2 separate regions of the Homo sapiens genome follow, and region 1 is linked to region 2. The links are contacts of gene promoters, found by promoter capture Hi-C in blood cells and fetal thymus (Javierre and others, 2016). All regions are on one chromosome and are shown on one strand. Each heading gives the region's core, a stretch centred on a gene start or on the middle of the fragment in contact. The rest is flanking DNA. Distances are from core to core; before and after follow the strand shown.

Region 1 (4,389 bases), core at 466-2,965, 450 kb before region 2:
CCTCGCAAAGTATCATGTAATTACTTAATTACATGATACTTTTATACATTATAATCAATTTCCCATTTGCATGTCTTGAGTAAACTGGAAGCCATGGATTTTTAGTATCATTTTGCCATTCACCTAGGATTCACATCTTCTTTTAAAGATAACAAAGATACTTTATTTGACAGTAATTCAGGAGATAAAAATATTCATGTAAAGGTTATGTTCATCTCAAAAGATTGATTTTTATATTAAAAATAAAATAAAACATTGATTCTTAAACCTATATGAGGATTAAATTATTGATTTGGATTAAGAACCAACCTCAATAGTTCCATAATTTTATTGCTTCTGAGGTTCCATTTCTCACTTAGAAAATCAACTTAATCTCTTAGAAATGCCTTATGCAAGGTCCTTTCGCATTTACAGAAGTCAAAGCTTATGATACTTTGGGACTTGTAGTGACTCTTATCTCTAAGCACCACAAAGTACCATAAGTAGATTGTGCTGTTGCTCGCCCTCATTGCCTGATTATCCCAGCCACTCATAAGAAGAATAACATTTCAAGATTGGACCATAGCCAACTCAACTCTAGCCAACTGAAGACACTAAACCAGAGGAGTAATGTAGAGTACATTTATGTTCTAAAACAGCTTAGAGATTTTTTACTAAGTTTGATATCCTGTAATTTTAAAATTTCTTAAATATATATATTTATGTCAGTCAAGCAGGATACATTTACTGAGTATCTCTTCTCAGTGAAGATGGACTGATGGGAGAGAACCCAATGAAAGGACAAAGACCATCTAGCTACACCTCATTCCAGTCGTTGAACATTAAATAAGTCACATCCTCCCCAAGTGTCAATTTCTTCCATTGTTAAAGTAGATTTTAAGCCTACTCTGATTACTACACAACATTCTTATGAGGGTGATGTGAAACAACAGATGTGGCAGTTTTTGAAGAATCGTGAAACAATATATAATTAAATATATCTCATAAGCTAAGTTTTTTATCTTCCTGAAAAAGCTAGGCCCTGCTAGTCCTTTTTCCAATTCTCAAAGCACAGCCCTATTAATGAAGAACAAGTTTTCATTGAAAGGCAAAATTTTTATTTTGTTTAGGCATGACCACACCACTGAATTTTATACAGCTTCAGTTTTTTCATTTCTTGATCTATATGGCTTCAATAAACCACTTATGAATATTTAAGGACAGATGAACAAATTAACATCTTTAACAAACTGTAACAACTTGACATATTATCTGATTATGTGATTATTATTAGGTAATAATAATCAATAGAAAACATTTGTTGAGGCTGGGTGCAGTGGCTCACGCCTGTAATCCCAGCACTTTGGGAGGCCAAGGCGGGCAGATCACCTGAGGTCAGGAGTTCAAGACCAGTCTGGCCAACATGGTGAAACCACATCTCTATTAAAAATACAAAAATTAGTCAGGCATGAAGGTGAGCACCTGTAATCCCAGCTAATCAGGAGGCTGAAGCAGGAGAATCGCTTGAACCTAGGAGGTGGAGTTTGTAGTGAGCCAAGATAGTGCCATTGTACTCCAGCTTGGACGACAGACTGAGACTTCATCACAACAACAACAACAACAAAAATTGTTGAAGGCTGACTATTCTAGGCATTGTGTTTTGTAATGAATGTATATTGTTCAATCCTCATAACAACCCTGTGACTATTTCTTTTTAATAGATTTTAGATTTGAACTCATAGATGACTTAGCTTTTGTTCTTAACCATATTCATATTTCCTCAGTCTCAGGGAATTAGGTCAATTAATTTTTCAACAAACCATATCTTTCTTGCGTTTAGCAGTAAAATTTTTGAAGGCTATATACTTGCTGAAATTATGTTCAAATGCTTGAATCACTATGTTAGATATGAATGCTTGAATCAAATGCTTGAATCGCTGTTAGACATGACTTTTTGTTTGTTTGTTTGTTTTGTTTTGAGACGGAGTCTCACTCTGTCACCAGGCTGGAGTGCAGTGGCAGGATCTCGACTCACTGCAACCTCCGACTCCCTAATTTAAGCAATTCTCCTGCCTCAGCCTCCCAAGTAGCTAGGATTACAGGCACAGTTCACCACGTCCAGCTAATTTTTGTATTTTTTAGCAGAGACAAGGTTTCACTATGTTGGCCAGGATGGCCTCGATCTCCTGACCTCATGATCTGCCCGCCTTGGCCTCCCAAAGTGCTGGGATTACAGGCATGAGCCACCACGCCCAGCCAGATATGCCGTCTTTAAATATGTATCATCTTTTAAAAAGACTCACTAATTGTATTTTCACCTTAGTTTTGTGTCCAAACCATATTAAACAGTTTATTTATTAAATTAAGAGTAATTTTTCACTGGTTTCCAAAACAAAAACCACACACACAAAATAAAGATTCTGTTTCATTATTAAGTATATGTTAATTTTATGTTCTACTCTCTAAAAAATTATAAAAATGTTCTGAAATACATTGAATGCTGCCAATATCACTGAAAAATATTTTTAAAGACATGAGATGATATCTTTGGAAGGGAAAACAAATTACCCAAAGTTTTAGGTTTCAGTAAGTTGCTTCAAAATGTCAGAGAACAAAATTTATTGACTTTTCTTGGAATGCTTTCATTTCATAAACTGGGACACTGAGGCTCAGTGGGTAGATTGAATATCCCGGTTATTAGTTGAATCCCTTTCTCCCAAATAATAATGTTTGACCCCATTATGGTTCTTTCTACTTGTATCTTGTATTACTTACCAAGACTAGAGGTAGACAAGTGACAAGTAAACTGTGATTATATGTTACATTGAACTCCAATACTGTATATATAGTATTTCCCAAAATCGCTGGCAATTTCCCATAAAACTACACATGCATCATTCACATATTTCTTTTTTATAATATAACTCTTGTGCCTGACTATAAGCAACTAGATGTTTAACAAATTCAATAATCTGCTAATTCTAGAAATAACTCCTCCTATAACTTCTACCTCAACAAAGAAGCTTCCTAGTATATGACCTGTTTGGACAAACATTTAATGTAACAGTAAAATTTGAAAACAACAATATTTCATTTAAAAAAACTAACCAAATTATCTATCTATCTATCTATCTACAATGATTTGTGTCAAACCAGTAATTTGAATTTATAATCCCTGATGTTAAAAAAAAAATGCTTTCTTGAATGCAGTGTTTCCTGTTATCCTTGAGTGCCTTAAAATTTAACTGACTATATACATTTACTGAAAGACTATTGTGTCTTGGGTTCTGACTACACAAACCTGAATAAAACATTTTCACAACCTTCAACTAGTTTACAGTAAAATAAGAGGCAACCAGTAATAACACTGTGAAGGGGATAAGTGTGATAACCATGGCACAAAAGCAGAAAGGGGCCTCCTGCCTCATAGAATCAGAAGCATGGGGTGAGGTATGAGGCTAAATAGAGGAGAGGTGTGTCCCAGGTAAAGACACAAATAAGTAAAGGCAAGAACTTACGAAAATGGTTGGCGGGTCTGGGAAGGAGAAAAGTGCAGAGTTCACAGAGGCAAGAACGTGAGGTGGGGAAGGGCAGAATGAACTGAAGAAATTAAAGATAGAAATATTAGAGATAGATTGTGTGGAAACCCTCTTGTTAAGGAGTTTAGATTTTACCCTATAAGCAATGGGTCATCACGAAATGTTTCTGATTAGAGGAAAAACAGGATTGTGTCTTTGTTTCAGAAGGATAACAGCACCCACACAATATGAAGTATTTTATTTTTTAAGTAAAAGTATTTGTATAATTAAATTTATTTTTCAATCCCAAAATATTTTTCAAATAAGTAAGGGTGCTTCCCATATTTCTGAACCAAGTTTGATTTTAGATTTTAGGAACTCTTCAGCTCTCTTTCTGTCTGTCATCTTAAATCTTACCTCCAGAATGTCCTTACTTTTTCCCCTTAGGGTATTTTTAATGCAAATATGAAAATACACCTACCACCAAATGAAATTTCACTTGTTTACTTTCCCATCAGGGAAAGCTAGCTATCAGGCCAGGTAGAGTGAATGTTGGTTGCTGTTTCAGCATGCATTTCCCTTTTTTCTATCACCTGGAACCTTATTTCCAATGAGATATTTACGTGCTTCTAGGTAAGTTCACGCCTTCCTCAGATCAAGCATGGAGGCTTGTTTAAGACTAGATTAATCAGTGCATTTCATCCCCCTGGTTGAGTTACTGCTTTAGAAGTGAGCATGGGTCCTAAGTTGGTTCGATCACACTAGGTTTCAGAATTTTACTAAAAATATTGAGACAAAAGCATTGTATTTTTTCTTTGCTGAAGTAAATCAAGAAAGCACCTAGAGCTGAAAGCTGCTGTCAGCCAATGTGATGTCAAGAGGGGAGCTGGCT
Region 2 (4,511 bases), core at 552-3,051:
TATATTTTAAGATGTACAAAATTTTAAAATGTCAGAACACCAAATTAATCTACATTTGTTACCTGTCTCCCATGAGACACTGGGTGCTTATGTTTATTTGATAAAACTTTATCCCTGGACACAATATCCTTTAACATCCTAGAATGTAAGGGTAGAAAAGGAACTATCAGTCCTTAATGTTAATGAAGAAAGTGCGGCAGAGAAAGGCCGTGGTTTCTGCAAGGTGGCACAGAAAAGTACAGTGAAGACATAATTAAAACTCAAATTTCTTTATCTTCTAAACCCCAGCTCAGAGAACCTTCTACTATACCACTTTGCCTCACTAGTGAACTAAGAACCATTTCCCCCAACACTAGTAACTCACTCTAACCATGCCAAGTCACTGCAACACCTTGCTTGCATCTGCAAATTTTTATCTATGTCTATATCAGAACCTCAGAAAACATGTTCATAGCTGAGACATTTTGCTCAAGACGAAATACAGTTTTATAGTCTATTAATTGTTGGTCCAAGAAAACAGATTACCTCCAGTTGTATGTGGGTACCTTAATGAGTAGGACAAGTGTCAGGGTGTGTGACAGAATTGCCTGAGTATGGAAGGTAGCAGTGAGAGTCTCCACAAAAATATTAATACTTTCCTATAGAGAAAGCCCCTTTTAAAGTGGGAGCCTTTATTAAAGTCCAGAGTTAAAAAGTAAGCTCTTTAACGTTGAGATTATAGACTTTTAGAAAGTTCATTTATGCCATGTTTCAGGCCTATGCTAAATTCTACGGCAAAAAGACCTGTAAATGCACCGGAGCTGACAGCCTGGGTCCTGGAACCCTTCCTCACGCTGCTACTACGGGGCACCCTTTCTATAATACAACCCCCCGAATGAAAACACTAATGCAAGCCTGGCCCCACAAAAACCTAGATAATGCTTACGTTGAAGACGACAGGTTTTTCGCTTTTGTTTTCGGTTGAGGACTTACTACCCCAAAAACACATCCGACCTGTACTAGAATAGGTGTGTGAGGGAGCGGGAAAAGCTCGGGTCATTTTAACTGGACTAGAAAGGAACACAGCGATCCCCTCACTAAACTTGTCGCCAAGTTCCCTCCTCGCCATCCCAGGGTGCGGGAAAAACCCCCTCCCGCCCCGGGGCCCCGGCAGCACTCGGGGACGCCAGCACGCCGGGCTCCTTCCCACCCGCGAACCGCGCTCCCCGCAGGGCGGGCCGGGGCGGGGAAAAAGGAGCTCGACGCGAAGGGCCGCGGGCGGCCTGGGAAGGGAGGAGGGAGACTTGGGAGGCTGCCGGGCGGTTTTATTGTTTCCTTTCGCCCTCCTCCTACCGCGCCTCCGCCCCAGCGTCACTGGAAAGCCGCCCGAGCCGCCCGGCGGCAGGTTATTTATAGCGCGGGCTGCGCGCGCGTCACGGAGCCCGGCCCGGCTGACGGGGCCGCTGACGCGCTTGGCCGCGGGGCCGAGTCCGCGGGGCTGCGCGCCGGACGCCGGCGACAATGGGCTTCTGTGTGCAGCTGCCGCAGCCGCCGGGGGCCGGGGGCCGGGGGCCGGGGGAGGGGGGCGGGCGACTCCCCGGCTCCCTTCTTGGTCGGCCGCGACCCCCCGAAAGGTAACAGGCCTCTTTCGCCCCCGGCCAGGACCTGGGCCCTGTGGGCTTTTTTTTTTTCCATTTTATCAGTAAGTTCCCCTTGTCCCAGCCTCCGCTTTCACTTCCCGCGTTCCCTCCACCCCAAAAACCGCCCCAACATGTCCAGAGAGGGGCATCTACCCAGCCGCCCAGCCAGGGGCGACCACTTTGTGAGCCCCGGGGAGCGGGACCCGTACCAGGCGCGCCCAGCGGGGGATGCGGTGACCGAGGGGCCGGGAGCGCCGGGCAGGTAACGTATCCTGGACCTAGAGTCGGGGGACTTTGTTTGGGGCGGGAGGAGCGGAACAGGGGTGGGTGTGAACGCCGGACGGCCCTTCCGGGACTCCTGTCCCCCCTCCTTCGCCCCACTCGCCTGCGCGCTGGAAGCCAATCTGGGTGTGTAGCGCGAAGAGCGAAAGAGAAACTTCTGCGTGACTGACTAGATGAGGCTCCTCCCGAGAAGCCGAGATAATAGAGGCCCCCTCTCCCGCCGCCCGCCTTTTTCTCCTCCCCCGGCCGCTCGCTCCTGTCGCCCCACCCCTCGAAGGCTGCGGACCAGCCCCCCACACTTCCCCCTACACCTCTGGCGGGTTCGCGCCGTGGACGCCCCCGCCCTGCGGGAGGAGGGGCTGGCGCGGATTTTAGGGACTTCCTGGGATGCGGAGATCGGCTCTGAACCATCCCCTTTCTGCTGCCCGGAGCTGGGGAAGCTCGCTGTGGAGCGTCTCGCACGTGGCAGGCAGGCAGAGAACTTGCTGCACCTTCTAGGAAATTGCAATCGATTTGTAATGCACTTTCGCTAATTGGGAGTTCAAAATTAAACTTTAATAAAGCATTCGTGTCGTCTCGTCTAATTGTGAAAGCTTCCATCCGTCCTGGTAGATAGACTCTAAGTCTCAAGTTAATGGCGCTAAGCTAGATTTTCCCCCCAAGTACAATTCCGTCAGCCGTCGTCGGCGCAGCTGGATTTCCGTAAGGTACAGATGTTGCTAATGACAGCTTAAGCACGGATGGGCAGATAGCATACGGAATGCAACATGTTGCCATATGGTTCCTTTAGCCTTTCACCTCCAGGGATATCAATCACATATATTCTGGGAGGAACTTAATGACTCTCTGAACAGCAAAATGAATTACCTGGTACAATTTATATCCCTTGACCTGATACGTTATAACAACAGGAAGATAGCATCTCGCAATTTCTGTGGTATAAATTGAACTACAGAGCTACATTTAAAATTCTACATCTATTTGTAGTTTAAGGGGCCCTGTCATATTCTGGCTGTAAAATCTGTTTCTGTATTGCCCATCTCCTTCCCCCTCCTACCTCTGGAGGAAGCAAAATTTATAAAGTTTAGCAAAACTGGTGTCGGAAATTGCCAGTCAACTGATTAATAGATGAAGTATGGAGAAATGGAAAATATGACTTCCAGAGCTACTTACTTCAACAAGAATTAGCCATCTTTAGGAACACCATACTTTTAAGCGTACAAAATTAAAGAACTCCAGAAAATGTATTTTCTGCTAGTTGTTTCAGTATAGCTCCTAAATCTATTCATTAACTATTTGAAATTCTCCATTTATTTTCAAACTTCAACCATTCCTACACTTTGGAAATTACAGAAGACAGTTCTCAGAAATATGAAATACAGGAAATGTAAGTAGCACCTCCTCAGCGAACCAGTTTCTGTACCCACAACCCCATGCACTCACTATTTATGTAGCTTAATTTGAATCATGTACATGGTGGTACTGGTAGTTTGCTTTTTCCTCCCAACATGTCAGTGACAGCATACTTAAGTTGCTGCTTCTCTCCTAGTGGAGTGATTCTGCAATATTTCACAGGTCTCATTTTTAAATATCCTGGTGACTAATAAAATGTTTTAATTGATTGCCTTTAATTTCAGATTATAAACGTGGTTGTCTTACTGTATCCTTTATTTTCTATTCACTAATACAGATAGATCACACGGGAAGACAATACTTTAAGGGCAAAAAGTAAAATAACTTACTAGAATTTCTAAACTTTATGTTTACTTTTACCTACTAAGGGATATCTGAAAGGTAGAGACATACTTTTAAAACTTTTTGCTTCTGGCACTATGTAAACATTAATTCATGTAAACTAATGACTAGCAGAATGCCTAAGATAGACATGAACAGTCTGAAAAAGTATTTACTTTCAGTCATGTCAAGTTTCGGAAAGTGTTAACATTTTGAAAGTTTGTCTATATATCATGTCCTTTCATAATTATTGTGAAATTATAAGACGATGCTTCTCCTTTTTTTTTTCCTTTGTAGTGGCTGATTTGTTACCTAGTGCTTTAGTTCGATAATTTTGATAATTATTATCAAATAAGATCCTTTGTGTGTGTATATAGGAGAAAATCTTATACAGAACACATTAAGATATACATAAGTTATGGCAATCTTGTCTTCTGGGGCTGTTTTTTAAATCTTTTAATGGCTGAGGTTTTATTTCTCTTTGTAGCACCAGCACTCGATGTGTCTTAAATGTGATCAGTAGTGATGGTGAGCTTGTCAATAATGACTCCATCTCCATGACTTGTGAATAGGCGGTGAGTGTGTCCTTTAATCAGTCACACAGAACTTGCTTTATAAAGCTGTTATTGTCATGAACAGATATTGCAGTCTTGTCAGGCCCAGTGATTATTAAAGTGTTCCTTCTTCAAAAGCCAGGCCGAAAGTCCTGCTGTGCTTCATTTCACAATTGAAGTCCATTAGTAAATAAAATCCCAAGCCGCACGATTTGCTGTTCCTCAAGTTATAGGCTTACATATATTTCATTAATAATCTTGGGCCCTTTTGTAGACATAAGTAGGTATATTTTTGGTATATATATATGGCAACAAAAATAAA

What was found. Contacts are between HindIII fragments. The CHiCAGO score rates a contact against its expected background, and 5 or more counts as called.
Region 1: a contact is called between a fragment that was not itself captured here and the fragment with the promoter of FLJ46875 in region 2, in 1 of 17 cell types (erythroblasts). The highest score is 5.2, in erythroblasts.

What each region holds. Positions count from the first base shown.
Region 1 is chr2:156,794,131-156,798,519 of GRCh38, reverse strand. All of the region lies in intron 1 of LOC124907897 (a long non-coding RNA gene), which reads right to left. Among named protein-coding and RNA genes, the nearest start is that of LINC01958, 130 kb to the right of the region's middle. The HindIII fragment of the contact is 2,579 bases long and covers 426-3,004 here.
Region 2 is chr2:156,339,410-156,343,920 of GRCh38, reverse strand. It overlaps FLJ46875 (a long non-coding RNA gene), which reads left to right and starts at 1,801. Exons shown (of 1, transcript NR_147695.1): 1 at 1,801-4,511. RefSeq lists enhancers at 520-579, 1,787-2,340, 2,341-2,896 and silencers at 990-1,599, 2,140-2,239. The HindIII fragment of the contact is 3,407 bases long and covers 1-2,496 here.